Regions from separate parts of the Homo sapiens genome. Here all the other regions are linked to region 1. Evidence: promoter capture Hi-C in human tissues and cell types (Jung and others, 2019). All regions are on one chromosome and are shown on one strand. Each heading gives the region's core, a stretch centred on a gene start or on the middle of the fragment in contact. The rest is flanking DNA. Distances are from core to core; before and after follow the strand shown. Region 1 holds the start of LSM14A (LSM14A mRNA processing body assembly factor). Region 2 holds the start of WTIP (WT1 interacting protein). Region 3 has its middle 3.2 kb from the start of SUNO1.

The links. Contacts are between HindIII fragments. The study calls those that stand out against the background at their distance.
Region 2: the fragment with the promoter of WTIP here is called in contact with the fragment with the promoter of LSM14A in region 1 in 1 of the 25 tissues and cell types used here (small bowel).
Region 3: a contact is called between a fragment that was not itself captured here and the fragment with the promoter of LSM14A in region 1, in 1 of the 25 tissues and cell types used here (aorta).

Annotation. Positions count from the first base shown.
Region 1 is chr19:34,170,791-34,174,871 of GRCh38, forward strand. LSM14A (LSM14A mRNA processing body assembly factor) reads left to right here and starts at 1,714. Exons shown (of 10, transcript NM_015578.4): 1 at 1,714-1,973. The coding sequence starts at 1,853. The HindIII fragment of the contact is 14,704 bases long and covers 1-4,081 here.
Region 2 is chr19:34,479,995-34,484,075 of GRCh38, forward strand. WTIP (WT1 interacting protein) reads left to right here and starts at 1,764. Exons shown (of 8, transcript NM_001080436.2): 1 at 1,764-2,647. The coding sequence starts at 1,981. RefSeq lists enhancers at 837-1,491, 1,492-2,147, 2,148-2,802. The HindIII fragment of the contact is 21,139 bases long and covers 1-4,081 here.
Region 3 is chr19:33,899,673-33,903,753 of GRCh38, forward strand. No RefSeq gene overlaps it. Among named protein-coding and RNA genes, the nearest start is that of SUNO1, 3.2 kb to the right of the region's middle. The HindIII fragment of the contact is 3,194 bases long and covers 542-3,735 here.

The DNA of each region.
Region 1 (4,081 bases), core at 464-2,963:
CAGCTGCCCTGAGCCACGTGCTGTTACTAGGCCCCTGATGATACGGCAGCAACCAAAACAACATCACTATCTCAAAATGTTTACATTCTAGTGAAGGAGACAGATACATACAAATAATTAAACAGACATACTTGAGAGAGATACATGCTATAAAGAAAATACAAGCTGAGTTAAGGAGATGAGTGGTATTATTTTAAACAAGGCTGTCAGGGACGTCATCTCTGGAGGTGATGCTTGAGCAGAGACTGGAATAAAGTGCTCAAGTACTGGTTGAATTAGACGCGACTGGAACAGAACGAGAAGCTAAATCATGTATATCCTTAGACACCAAAGTCTGGTTTTCTCTCTGTGTAACATGGGATCAGTAGAGTGAGTAGAGGAAGGACATGATCTGAGTTAGATTTTTTTTTTTTTTTTTGAGACGGAGTCTCGCTCTGTCGCCCAGGCTGGAGTGCAGTGGCACAATCTCGGCTCACCACAACCTCCGCCTCCTGGGTTCAAGCAATTCTCCTGCCTCAGCCTCCCAAGTAGCTGAGACTATAGGCGCGCGCCACCACGCCTGGCTAATTTTTTTATATTTTTAGTAGAGACGGGGTTTCACCATGTTGGCCAGGCTGGTCTCGAACTCCTGACCGGTGATGCGCCCGCCTCGGGCCCCCAAAGTACTGGGAGTACAGGCGTGAGCCACTGCGCCCAGCCCTGAGTTAGATTTTAAGAAGATCTCTCTGGCTGCTGTATTGAGAATAAAGTACTGGGGGCAAGAGTTGACACAGAGGCAACTTTTAGAAGGCTACTGCAATAATTCAGCCCGAGTAATCGTGGCTTGTGGGAGAAGTGTAGGAATGGAGATGAGAAGTCAGATTTAGGATATATTGTGTATACATAACGGAGAGGTGTAGTCAGAACAGATGTGGAAGCAAGACAGGGCAAGGCTGACTCACGGCTTTTAGTCTGAGCAGCTGAGTAAAAATGGTACCGTTTACATCAAATAGGGAACGGTGGTGAAGGAGCAGGTTAGAGGGGAAACAGGGAGCATGGCTTTGGACCCTTAACGTTTGAGATTCGACAGAAACCCTGGTTCACGGAATTGATCCAAGCTACATACTGATAATTGGGATTAGTGAGTTACAATGGCGTTGCAAGCCATGAAACTGGTTCAGACCGGCTGAATGAGCGGGACAGGAAGGGGCTGAAACACTTGAGTCCTTGTGAGAGCCCCAGCTCCAGGGGCAGCCTCGGGGGAAGCTCCCCGGGCGATGACTGCGGTAATGGAGCCGTAGGAGCTCCACGAGGTGCAGGTTCAGCGTCTTAGAAGGATGAGCAGCGGCTCGCCACAGCTCGGAGGCGGGTGGGCAGCGCTCCAGGCCGAGGGCCCCGCGTCGGCAAAGACACAGGACCCACGACAAGGCGGCCACGGCCTGAGTCAAAAGGAAGGCCGCGCGCCTCCTCTCCAGCCCGCAGCAAGCGGGTGCCACGAGGCACTCAGCCGGTCCCCGAAGTTCCTCTCACGCGGCCCCAAGACCACCACCGTAGTCCAGGCCAACAAGCGCTGCCGGGACTCCCGAGGCCACGAATGAGCCGGGAGCCACCAGTAGCCGGCCAAGTCTCGCGAGAGCGCGGCCTCGCCCTCCCAGCATGCCCCGCGCCGCCGCCGCTGCCGCCGCCGCCGCCGCCGCCGCGCCGCGGCTTGAGGGCGGGAGGCTGGGGGAGGGTAGCGGAGCCGGCGCCGCCGCCATGTTGGGTCTGAAGCGGCTGCTGTAGGCGCCGACGGAGCGAGCGGGCGTGCGGAGCGGGCGACAGTGGCGTGGGATCTGCCTCTCTGCGAGCAGCTGGGAGCGGCGGCGGCGGCGCCATGAGCGGGGGCACCCCTTACATCGGCAGCAAGATCAGCCTCATCTCCAAGGCGGAGATCCGCTACGAGGGCATCCTCTACACCATCGACACCGAAAACTCCACCGTAGCCCTTGCCAAAGGTACGCGGGACCGGGCCTCAGGGTGGGGGCCGAGCCGGGCGCCGCTCGGGGCTGCTCCCCGCTCCGGCCCGCGGCCTCCTCGTTCCCTCCCCTCCCTCCGTCGAGCTCCGGGAGGCCTCTCGCCTCCCTTCTCCGGGCCCCGGCGTCGCGGGCCGGACCGCGGCCTCCCCGCGGCTCCCTGGTTTCCGCCCCCCGGAATGTCCGCGCCTGAAGCCCGGGGAACTACGGGACTGAGTGCGCGGCGGGCGGCCCTGAAGTCCGAGAACGGGCCGGAGAACACGGAGAAACGCGTCTTCCAACTCCGAAATTCGGGGCTTCTGCCGTCTTAGCACAAAACAAAGCCGGAGTATTCAAAGAATTTTTCCGCCCAGCTTGAGTTCATCGCGGATGCGTTGACTACACAGCACCCATTTTCTCACTTTGTTCATTTCAATTCGTGGCGATCTTCCTCTGGTGAACTCTTGAGTAATGTGCTAAAACTTTGGGTTTGCTCTGCGACGCAGACATTCTCGAAATGCCATCGATGCCGTGGAGCAGATCCCATCTCCCTCGGCTCATCCTCTGTTGGTATTTACCTGTTAAACCGGAATCCTCAAAGCCTGTTGTGCAACCACCTCATTAGGGCGCGTGGTAAAAATGCTTGCTGCTGCCCCGACGCCCCTGTTTCTGGAAACGGGTTCAAGCTTGATCCAGGATCCTTCTTGACCAGGCAAGCTTGACCTTTGATCCAGGCTCAGTGGGCGTTGACTGATCCCTCTGGAGGCTCTCTGGGAAAGGGAATTCGGCCGAGAAGGAAGGTGCCCCTACCCACAGTGTTAATATTTGGCATCCCTAGAGTCTGTGTGGGTTTTGTTTCCGTTCACACGTGCAGGGCCTTTGCTCCGCCAGGAAACCAGAAAGAAAATAAACTTTAGCTCCTGAATCTTAAAGGAAATCTCACAACAGTGTAAAATACTTTGAGGGAAGCTAGATAACCTAGGTGATTTTCCCAGCACTTCTGGTAGAGGTGGGAACTGCATAGCATGGTTAGGGACCCTGTGGATAGGTTAGGTCCAAGGATAAAGAAGAAGATTTTCGAAATCTGTAAAATTTTAAAAATCGTTAACAGATAGGGGAGTGGTTTCACGGGATCAAGTATTTAATAATATTTCTTGGATGCTCTGGTAAATCCTTTATTTATTTATTTATTTATTTATTTTTCTAAGATGGAGTTTAGCTCTTTTTGCTCAGGCTGGAGTGCAAAGGCAATGATTTCGGCTCACTGCAACGTCCGCCTCCCGGGTTCAAGTGATTCTCCTGCCTCAGCCTCCCAAGTAGCTGGGATTATAGGCGCCTGCCACCACCCCTAGCTAATTTGGTATTTTTAGTAGAGACGGGGTTTCACCATGTTGGCCAGGCTGGTCTCGAACTCCTGACCTCAGGTGATCCACCCGCCTCGGCCACCCAAAGTGCTGGGATTACAGGCATGAGCCACCGCGCCCAGCCTCTGGTAAATCTTTTTAATAGCCCTGGTGTTGGGACAAATCTTATACCTGGGTAGGGAACCTTTTGATGTTACAGAACTGTACACCATAAAGGAGTAGTATGAGATGGTGATAGTTGCACAACTCTGCAAATTTGCTGAAGATCATTGAATTATACACTTTTTAAAATCACCAAGTCTAATTTTAAAAGTAGTATGAAAAACCAGGGAGTACCCCCACATTTCCCTCTTCACCTTGTGAAACATTATGCAGTGACACATTACCTCATTAAAACACCTGTAGACTTGGCGGTTAGAAATCGGCTATAGGATGTATGATGGATGGTATTTGGTGTTTATTAAAGACTTTCCCAGTGATGCTTCTTAAGTAACTTAGTTTTTGCTTGGCCTTATTTTGAATTTATTTTTATATTTTTTATACAATAGTTACTTAGCTGTATAGTGTTTTTCTGGCTTTTTGAAATTATGAAAAAGCCTCTCTTTATGAAATTATGAAAAGTGCTGGGTGAGAGCCAGATATGGGTTGAAAATAATTTCTCATTAAAGTGGTTTAATAAATTTGTTTTAAAGTATTGCTTTACCTAATCTGAATTTAAAAGTGTCTTGCCAGCTTAGTGACTCAATA
Region 2 (4,081 bases), core at 514-3,013, 310 kb after region 1:
GGGATTATACGACACGGTTGTGATTGGATTATTGTCTGCATTTTTGATAACTTCCCTTGAATAGATGTTTAGCAGCAGTATTACTGCTTCTAAGTTTCGTGTTCGTTTGTGCGGATGTTGACACCGCCAAACTGCTCTTCCCAAAAGGATATCCCAATTTGCACTCATACCAGTAGCATATGTGCAACTGTTTCACCACAGTCCTGCCAATATTGTAATTTTTAAATAGTAGATAATGCAGTCCATGAAATGTGATATGACTGAACTGGCTTTTCCTTTCTCATTTGAAAGGTAGACCATTTTTCATGTCCTGGCTTCCCTGGGTATTTGCTCTCCCAAATGCTGGCTTCTAGACCCCGCACGGAGTCTCATGCCTGTAATCTCAGCGTTTTGTGTGGTGGTGTGCGCCTGTACTCCTACGTACTCAGGAGTCCGAGGTGGGAGGATTGCTTGAGCCCAGGAGGTTGAGACTCTGGGGTGTGTGTGATCACTGTGAGCTGTGATCACACCACTGTACTCCAGCCTGGGGGACAGAGCGACACCTTGTCTGAAAAAAACAAAACAGCGCAACTCCCCCACCCTCCGCGCACACGAAATGCTTGCTTCCACTTCCCCTACCCTGGTGGGGCAGGGGCTGGAACTCCGCAGGCTATGGGAAGGTGCTGGGGTTAGCGGCCCCAGCGGGTGCTCAGTGGTGTTGAGGCCACACTGCCCTGGGCGGTCTGGCCGGGACAGTTCCCGTGCGGGCTCCCTGCGCGCTGAGCCACTGTAGGCGCCTTCCCGAAAATCTCTGAGCAGAGAGGGCCTGGAAAACAGTACTCTCTCACGCAACACTTTTCTTGGATCCATCAGGCCCTGACAGATAACGGTTTGGTTTTCTTCCCTATAGCCGTGTGACTTGTACAAGGGATTTTAGTTGTGTCCTTGGGCACGAAGCCCTAGTCACCTCTCGATTCCCCACCTATGTGGCCCCTATGGCCCCGCTGGTTCCAGGACCTCCCCTCGAAGCCTCACCCACCACCCTGGATGCAGGTGCTGGAAAAGGGAGGAGTCCCCATATTTCACGGGGACTGCCTGTGATGGCCACAGGGGAGGCTCGCCGCCCACCGGCTCTGAGCCTGAGGCCTGCTTCTAGCCTGGCCTTGGGGGCCTGGGCGAAGCGACCCAGCGCGAGGACCAGTCCCCAACCAACCCGCTCCTAGTTCTGGGCGCCTTCCCCAGCAGTCAGATGGGGGCTTCAGAGGCCGGTGCGCGGCCACATGGCCCCGGGCCAGGCAGGGGGTCGTGGGGACGCATCTGCGCTAGGCGCACAGTATTCCTGGGCGCGGGACGGGCGAAGCGCCGTGGGTTCCAAGCTGAGCTGGGTCGGCCCTGCAGCGCCGGAGAGCAAGGCGGCGCAGGGAAGGGAGATGGGGCGGGATGTGGGGAAAGCTGTCGACTGCTTGGATCTCTCCGGCCCGGATGGCGCCAGCTGCCTCCAGCTCAGCCTGCGGAAATCCGAGCTCTTCCCAGCGGCCCGACGGCCCGGGCGCCCCGCAGACCCTGGGCTCTCCCCGCGGTGCCTCCGCCGCCCGCCCCTGCGTCCTGGCCCGGCCTCCACGCCCCTCCGAGGTCCCGGCGCAGCGCGGCCGCCGCCACTCCCCCCACATTCCAGAGGCCGCAGCGCCGTCTCCTTCCTCGCATTCCTGCCCCCGCAAAGGAGTCCCTCCGCCCCGCGCGAGGCCGCGGCGAGGAGGGGGCGCGGCCCGGCGCCTGGGAGCTTACATTCCTCCGCCGCGCGCGCCGCCGAGCAGGGCGCCGCGTCCCCCGGCCCGCGCGTGGCCGCCGGAACGACCCCGGCCCGGCGCCGGCCCCGCCCCGCCCCGCGCCCAGGGGTCCCGGGGCGGGCTCCGGGCTTCGGGCGGACGATGCGGCGGCCCGGCCGGAGCGGCGGCGGGAAGCGGAGGCGGAGGTGACGCGCCAGGGCCGGCGGGCCGGGCCATGCAGCGCTCCAGGGCGGGCGCGGACGAGGCGGCCCTACTCCTGGCCGGGCTGGCCCTGCGGGAGCTGGAGCCCGGGTGCGGCTCTCCCGGTCGGGGGCGGCGGGGGCCGCGGCCTGGGCCTGGAGACGAGGCGGCGCCCGCGCTGGGCCGCAGAGGGAAGGGCAGCGGCGGCCCCGAGGCCGGGGCGGACGGACTGAGCCGCGGGGAGCGGGGTCCCCGGCGCGCGGCGGTTCCGGAGCTCAGCGCGCAGCCTGCGGGCAGCCCACGGGCCAGCCTGGCGGGGTCCGACGGCGGCGGCGGTGGCGGCAGCGCCCGATCCAGCGGCATCAGCCTGGGCTACGACCAGCGCCACGGCAGCCCGCGCTCCGGTCGCTCGGACCCGCGTCCCGGTCCCGGGCCGCCTTCGGTGGGCAGCGCCCGCTCCAGCGTTTCCAGCCTCGGCTCCCGGGGCTCGGCCGGCGCCTACGCTGACTTCCTCCCGCCCGGCGCCTGCCCCGCGCCCGCTCGCTCCCCGGAGCCTGCGGGGCCGGCTCCCTTCCCGCTGCCTGCACTCCCGCTGCCCCCTGGCCGGGAGGGCGGCCCAAGCGCGGCCGAGCGGCGGCTGGAGGCGCTCACCCGGGAGCTGGAGCGGGCGCTCGAGGCGCGCACGGCGCGGGACTACTTCGGTGAGCTCGCTCGGCCCGGCAGTTCCCTGCGCGCATGGCTGGGGTCCGGGGTTCCGAGACTGCCTCGGGTAGGCGGCCGGATCAGCGGAGGAGAGCACGGGGCTGGCTGGGGGTGCAGCAGTGCACGGGGTTGGGACGAGGAAGGTGCATCCCCTGGGGACTGGGGAGCGCAAAGGGTGAGTGAGTGCGCCTGGATCCCCAGCAGCGGCTTCACCCCTGCCTCTGGGTCCCCCGACACACGAGGGGTTCTGGCCGAGTGAGTTGATGTGCGGTTCCTAACTTAACAGGCAAGTCAGGTTCATGGGCACACTGAGCCATTTTCTGATAATTTTTTCTTCTTTCTTCTTTTTTTTTTTTCTTTCTTCTTTTTTTTTTTTTTTTGAGACAGGGTCTTCCTCTGTCGCCGAGACTGGAGTGCAGCGGCGCGTCCTCGGCTTACTGTAGCCGTCGCCTCTCAAGCTGAAGCGATCCTCTCGCCTCAGCCTCCCGAGAAGCTGGGACTACAGGTGCACACCACCATGCCCAGCTTTTCTTCTTCTTACTTTTTTTTTTTTTTTTTTTTTGTAGAGACAGAGTCTCCCTATGTTGCCCAGGCTGGTCTTAAACTCCTGGGCTCAAGCGATCCGCCCTCCTCGGCCTCCCAAGGTGCTAGGATTACAGGCTTGAGCCAGTGCGCCCGGCCTGATCTTTTCTTCTTTGCGTTTGGTGCTCTCATTCTATCTGATCCTTTCATGCTTCGTGATGAGCAGAAAGGGGTGCTTCCCCGTCTGCCCCGCCACGGTATGGGTGTGGACAGCAACCGGGAGATGGAGTGGCCCAGGTACCACCGGATACCGCCTGACCCAGGCTTTGGTGATGGTAGCGGCTGGAGAGGGAGACTGTGTGAGGGAAGAAAAGCCCACTTTGCGGGAGAGGGGAACCGTGCCAGTCACACGGGGCTGCCCTCGCCCGGACTGTGCTGTGGACATAGGATGTTTCCTAAAGGAATCCTGCTGCAGGTGCATCTGCAAAGCCCAGCAGCCTCACAGCCTCCACTTCCCAGTGTGGCCCAGGCCCCCTGATCTCTAGTTCTTGGGACAGCTCTTGGGGTGAGATTGTGAGCGGGGCAGAGGTATACTGTGGGGCCTGGGGCGAGAACTTCCCAACCCGCCTTCTGTATTAAGCACCTGGCTTTGGTGGATGGATGGTCACCATGCCTGGGACCGTGGCTGTCCTGGGGTTTGTGTCTTTGAGCGTTCAATGGTGTCAGCAGCTCACGGCTGCCCTGAACTGGATCTTTTTTTTTTTTTTTTTTTTTTTTTTTTGAGACGGAATCTCGCTCTGTCGCCAGGCTGGAGTGCAGTGGCGTGATCTTGGCTCACTGCAACCTCCGACTCCCTGGTTCAAGCGATTCTCCTGCCTCAGCCTCCCCAGTAGCTGGGATTACAGGCATGC
Region 3 (4,081 bases), core at 889-3,388, 270 kb before region 1:
AGTGGCACTATCTTGGCTCACTGCAACCTCTGCCTCCTGGATTCAAGCGATTCTCCTGCTTAAGCCTCCCAAGTAGCTGGAACTACAGGTACATGTCACCAGGTCTAGCTAATTTTTGTATTTTTAGTAGAGATGGGGTTTCAGCATGTTGCCCAGGCTGGTCTCAAACTCCTGGACTCAAATGATCCACCCCACTTGGCCTCCCAAAGTGTTGGGATTACAAGCATGAGCCACCATGCCTGGCCAGTCTCTGATATTTTAAAACAGATTTTTAAAATTATCTAACTGTTCCAGTTGTTTAAGGTGGGAAGTTTCATTTGATCCAGACTGGCGTTCCAGAGCCAGAAGAAGAGATCTCAACTGTTCCTTTAGCATAATTCCTCACCTATAATGATGGTTAGCATAAAAATTAAGGTTTAGGGTATTGGCTTTGAATTCATAAATTCCATCTGGGTGGGTTTAAAAAGTATAAGTTGGTTAAACTGGTTGGAAAGAGTGGAAAATTATAGTTCTCTGTTAAGATAAATTGTTCTAACTAAATTAGTATAAGAAGCGTTTGAGCAGTCACTGGAAACATACAATACATCCCAGTTAACTTTCCGGTACTTTTTCTCTTAGTGAAGTATACGTTTGTTTTATAGCAGCAAGAATTAGGGATGCTTCTAGCCTTCTCAGCCTTCTGTCAGGCTCTGGGTCATCTTGTAGTATGCTTGTTAGGTCCCTAAGAAGACACTGTGTTTGCCTCTCTGTTTATGCCTCAGGTAAACCCATTCAATAAACATATAGCAATCACATTTAAAGATTCTCATCTTACTTATCCAAAAGTTTCAGAAATTGTCCTTTTAAAGTACAAACATCCATAAAAACCGAGAAGATGGGCCGGGTGTGGTGGTTCACGCCTATAATCCCAGCACTTTGGGAGGCCGAGACGAGCAGATCACCTGAGGTCAGGACTTTGAGACCAGCCTGGCCAACATGGCAAAACCCTGTCTCTACTAAAAATACAAAAAAATTAGCCAGCCATGGTGGCGCATGCCTCTAATCCCAGCTACTTGGGAAGCTGAGGCAACAGAATCACTTGAACCGGGAAGTGAAGGTTGCAGTGAGCCAAGATCGTGCCACTGCGCTCCAACCTGGGTGACAGAGGGGGACTCTGTCTCAAAAAAAAAAAAAAAAAAAAATCCCTGAGAAGAAGAAAAGAATAAACAGAACACACACACAAATAATTTTGCACAGCAGAGTGGAGAGGTGATACAGCCAGCCACTTGTCAAATAACTACAGCTGTTGCAAGCTTGATCTTGGCAGGTTGTTCATGCCACATGGGGAAAAGGGCCTTCAAAGCACAAAGTTCGACCCATTCTGGCAGAGTATCAGGATGAACTAGTTAACCTGAAGGCCAGGCTGCATGCTGGACAAGAACAGCTGGGAAGGCTGAGGGCATCTACTGCAGGCACTCACGTTTTGAAGCACAAGTAGGTTTTATTACCAAGGCTGTGCATAGCCACCAGCGAAAGTATAGGTAAGGCTGCTTAGTGAACTGCTTTGGGAACTGAATGAGCAGAAACGAATCTGTGAGCCCTAGAGACTATCCTCTAAAAAGGCCATGGACTGATTGTATGATAATGTTTGGGCCTCTGAACACAAGTGGGAGATTCAAGACCAGCCACTCAAATCAGATTGCTTCAGTTAATAAAATAAGGGACAATGACAGGAAGTACATGGTGTGGGGGCTGGTCCTCTCAACTCCTTGGAGAGACACACAGAAGAAAAAAAATGGTTTTAGCTAGGCTATAATCACAGAATCTGTTAGGACTAAACGGATCCTCCTTGTAGATAGAGTCTAACGTTAACCACCTTATGTTACAGATGAACAGACACCATGCCGAAAACTCCTTTTCACCTGCCAGTCCTCATATCAAACACTCATTCTTCGGCAAAGGCTTCCCTGCTTCCATTTGGTGGCTCTATCCTTCATTCATTTATTTTCTTTATTTTTCTTCTTTTTTTGTTTTAGAGGGAGTCTTACTCTGTCGCCCAGGCTGGAGTGCAATGGCACGATCTCGGCTCACTGCAACCTCCACCTCCCCAGTTCAAGTGATTCTCCTGCCTCAGCCTCCCTAGTAGCTGGGATTACAGGCATCTGCTACCATGCCCAGCTAATTTTTGTGTTTTTTAGTAGAGATGGGGTTTCATCATGTTGGCCAGGCTGGTCTTGAACTCCTGACCTCAGGTGATCCACCCTCTTCAACCTCCCAAAGTGCTGGGATTACAAGCGTGAGCCATAGCGCCTGGCCTTCTTCATTATTTTCTAATCTCAAGTGTGAGCTCCATCATTTCAGGAGCTCAAGAAAACAAAAGGTCCTCAATATCATTTGCTGAAGGGACACATGAGAAGGGGTATCTGCAAAGTGCACTGAGTCTCCATTGTCCTGAGCCCCAGCCCAGGCAATTCAGCCAGACTCCAATAGCAGTTCAAAAGTTTCAGAACACTCTGAAAAAACAATTTAAACATGATATGAAATATAGAGAATAACAGAATGACCCACCATGTACACATTACTAATGCCCCATCATTTTCCCATCTATATCTTCACACACTTCCCTTGCCCCATCTAAAACTACTTACACACAAATCCCAGATATCCTATCATTCCCTCTAAATATTTTATCCTGTATTTTCAGAAGATAATTTTAAAAATACCACCATAATATTACCGTTTCTAAAAAATTTAAGAAGACTTTTAAAATATCAAATATCCCATCAGTATTGAAATTCACAAGTGTCCTAAAAACGTTAGTTTTTTTTTCTTTTTATCATTTGTTTGATTCAGAATCTAAATGTGATTATTTTCCTTGCAATTCATTATTGAAGAACTGGGTCGTTTATCCTGCGGTTTTACAAGAGCTGGATTGTTTTGATTATGTCCCCATAGTGCTGTTTAACATGTTCCCCTGCAGTTTTCATTTCATGTAAATTAGTACAGGAGTCCCCCCCCATCCTCCAGGATATATTCCAAGACCCCCAGTGGCTGCCTGAAATCATGGACAATAGCAAACCCTACATACTGTAGAGTATGTTTCTTCATATATATATATATATATATGAATGATAAAGTTTAATTTATAAACTAGGCACAGTAAAAGATTAACAACAGTAACTAGGCACAGCAAGAGATTAACAGCAATAACTAATAATAAAATAGAACAATTACAACAATGCACTGTAATAAGAGTTACGTGAATGTGGATGTAGTAACCCAGACGGGTATTGAGTGACTAATGGGCAGGTGGTATGGACAGTGTAGATACACAAGGGGATGATCGCATCAGGGTGGTGGAGTGGCTTCGTTGTCTGGGGTAAATACTTGAGGTTCATTGCCTCATACCAAGGAAATCAAGGATCCAGATGTATGTGAAATGAGGTTAACAGCGGAGGTTTAATAGGCAAAAGAAAGAGAAAAGAGAATAGCACTCTCTCCCACAAGAGACGGGGCGGGGGGGAAGGGGCGGGGCGGGGAGGGGCGGGGCGGGGCGGGGGGCCGGCCGGCAGCCCTGGAGGAGTGCACTGGATTTCATAGATAAGCTTGAGGAGGCGGTGTCCGATTTACATCGGGCCCAAAGATTGGTTGGACTAGGTGTGATGTTTACATAACTCGCAGGGAAGCCGGCTACCCCACCCTAATCTTTTTTTTTATTTTAGACAGAGTCTTGCTGTGTTGCCCAGGCTGGAGCGCAGTGGCGCAGTCTTGGCTCACTGCAACCTCCCAGGTTCAAGCAATTCTCCGGCCTCAGCCTCCCAGGTAGCTGGGATTACAGGCGACCACCACTAGGCCTGGCTAATTTTTGTATTTTTAATAGAGACGGGGTTTCACCACGTTGGCCAAGCTTGTCTTGAACTCCTGAATGCAGGCGACACCTCCTCCCCCGGCCCTCAGCTTCCCAAAGTGCTGGGATTATAGGCTTGAGCCACCTCGCCCAGCCCACCCCACCCTAATCTTATTATGTAAATGGGGTCTTTGCTTGGCCGGGGTTATGTTGCCTGCTCCTTGGTGTACACATGTCTGGCAAAGAGAAGGGAAG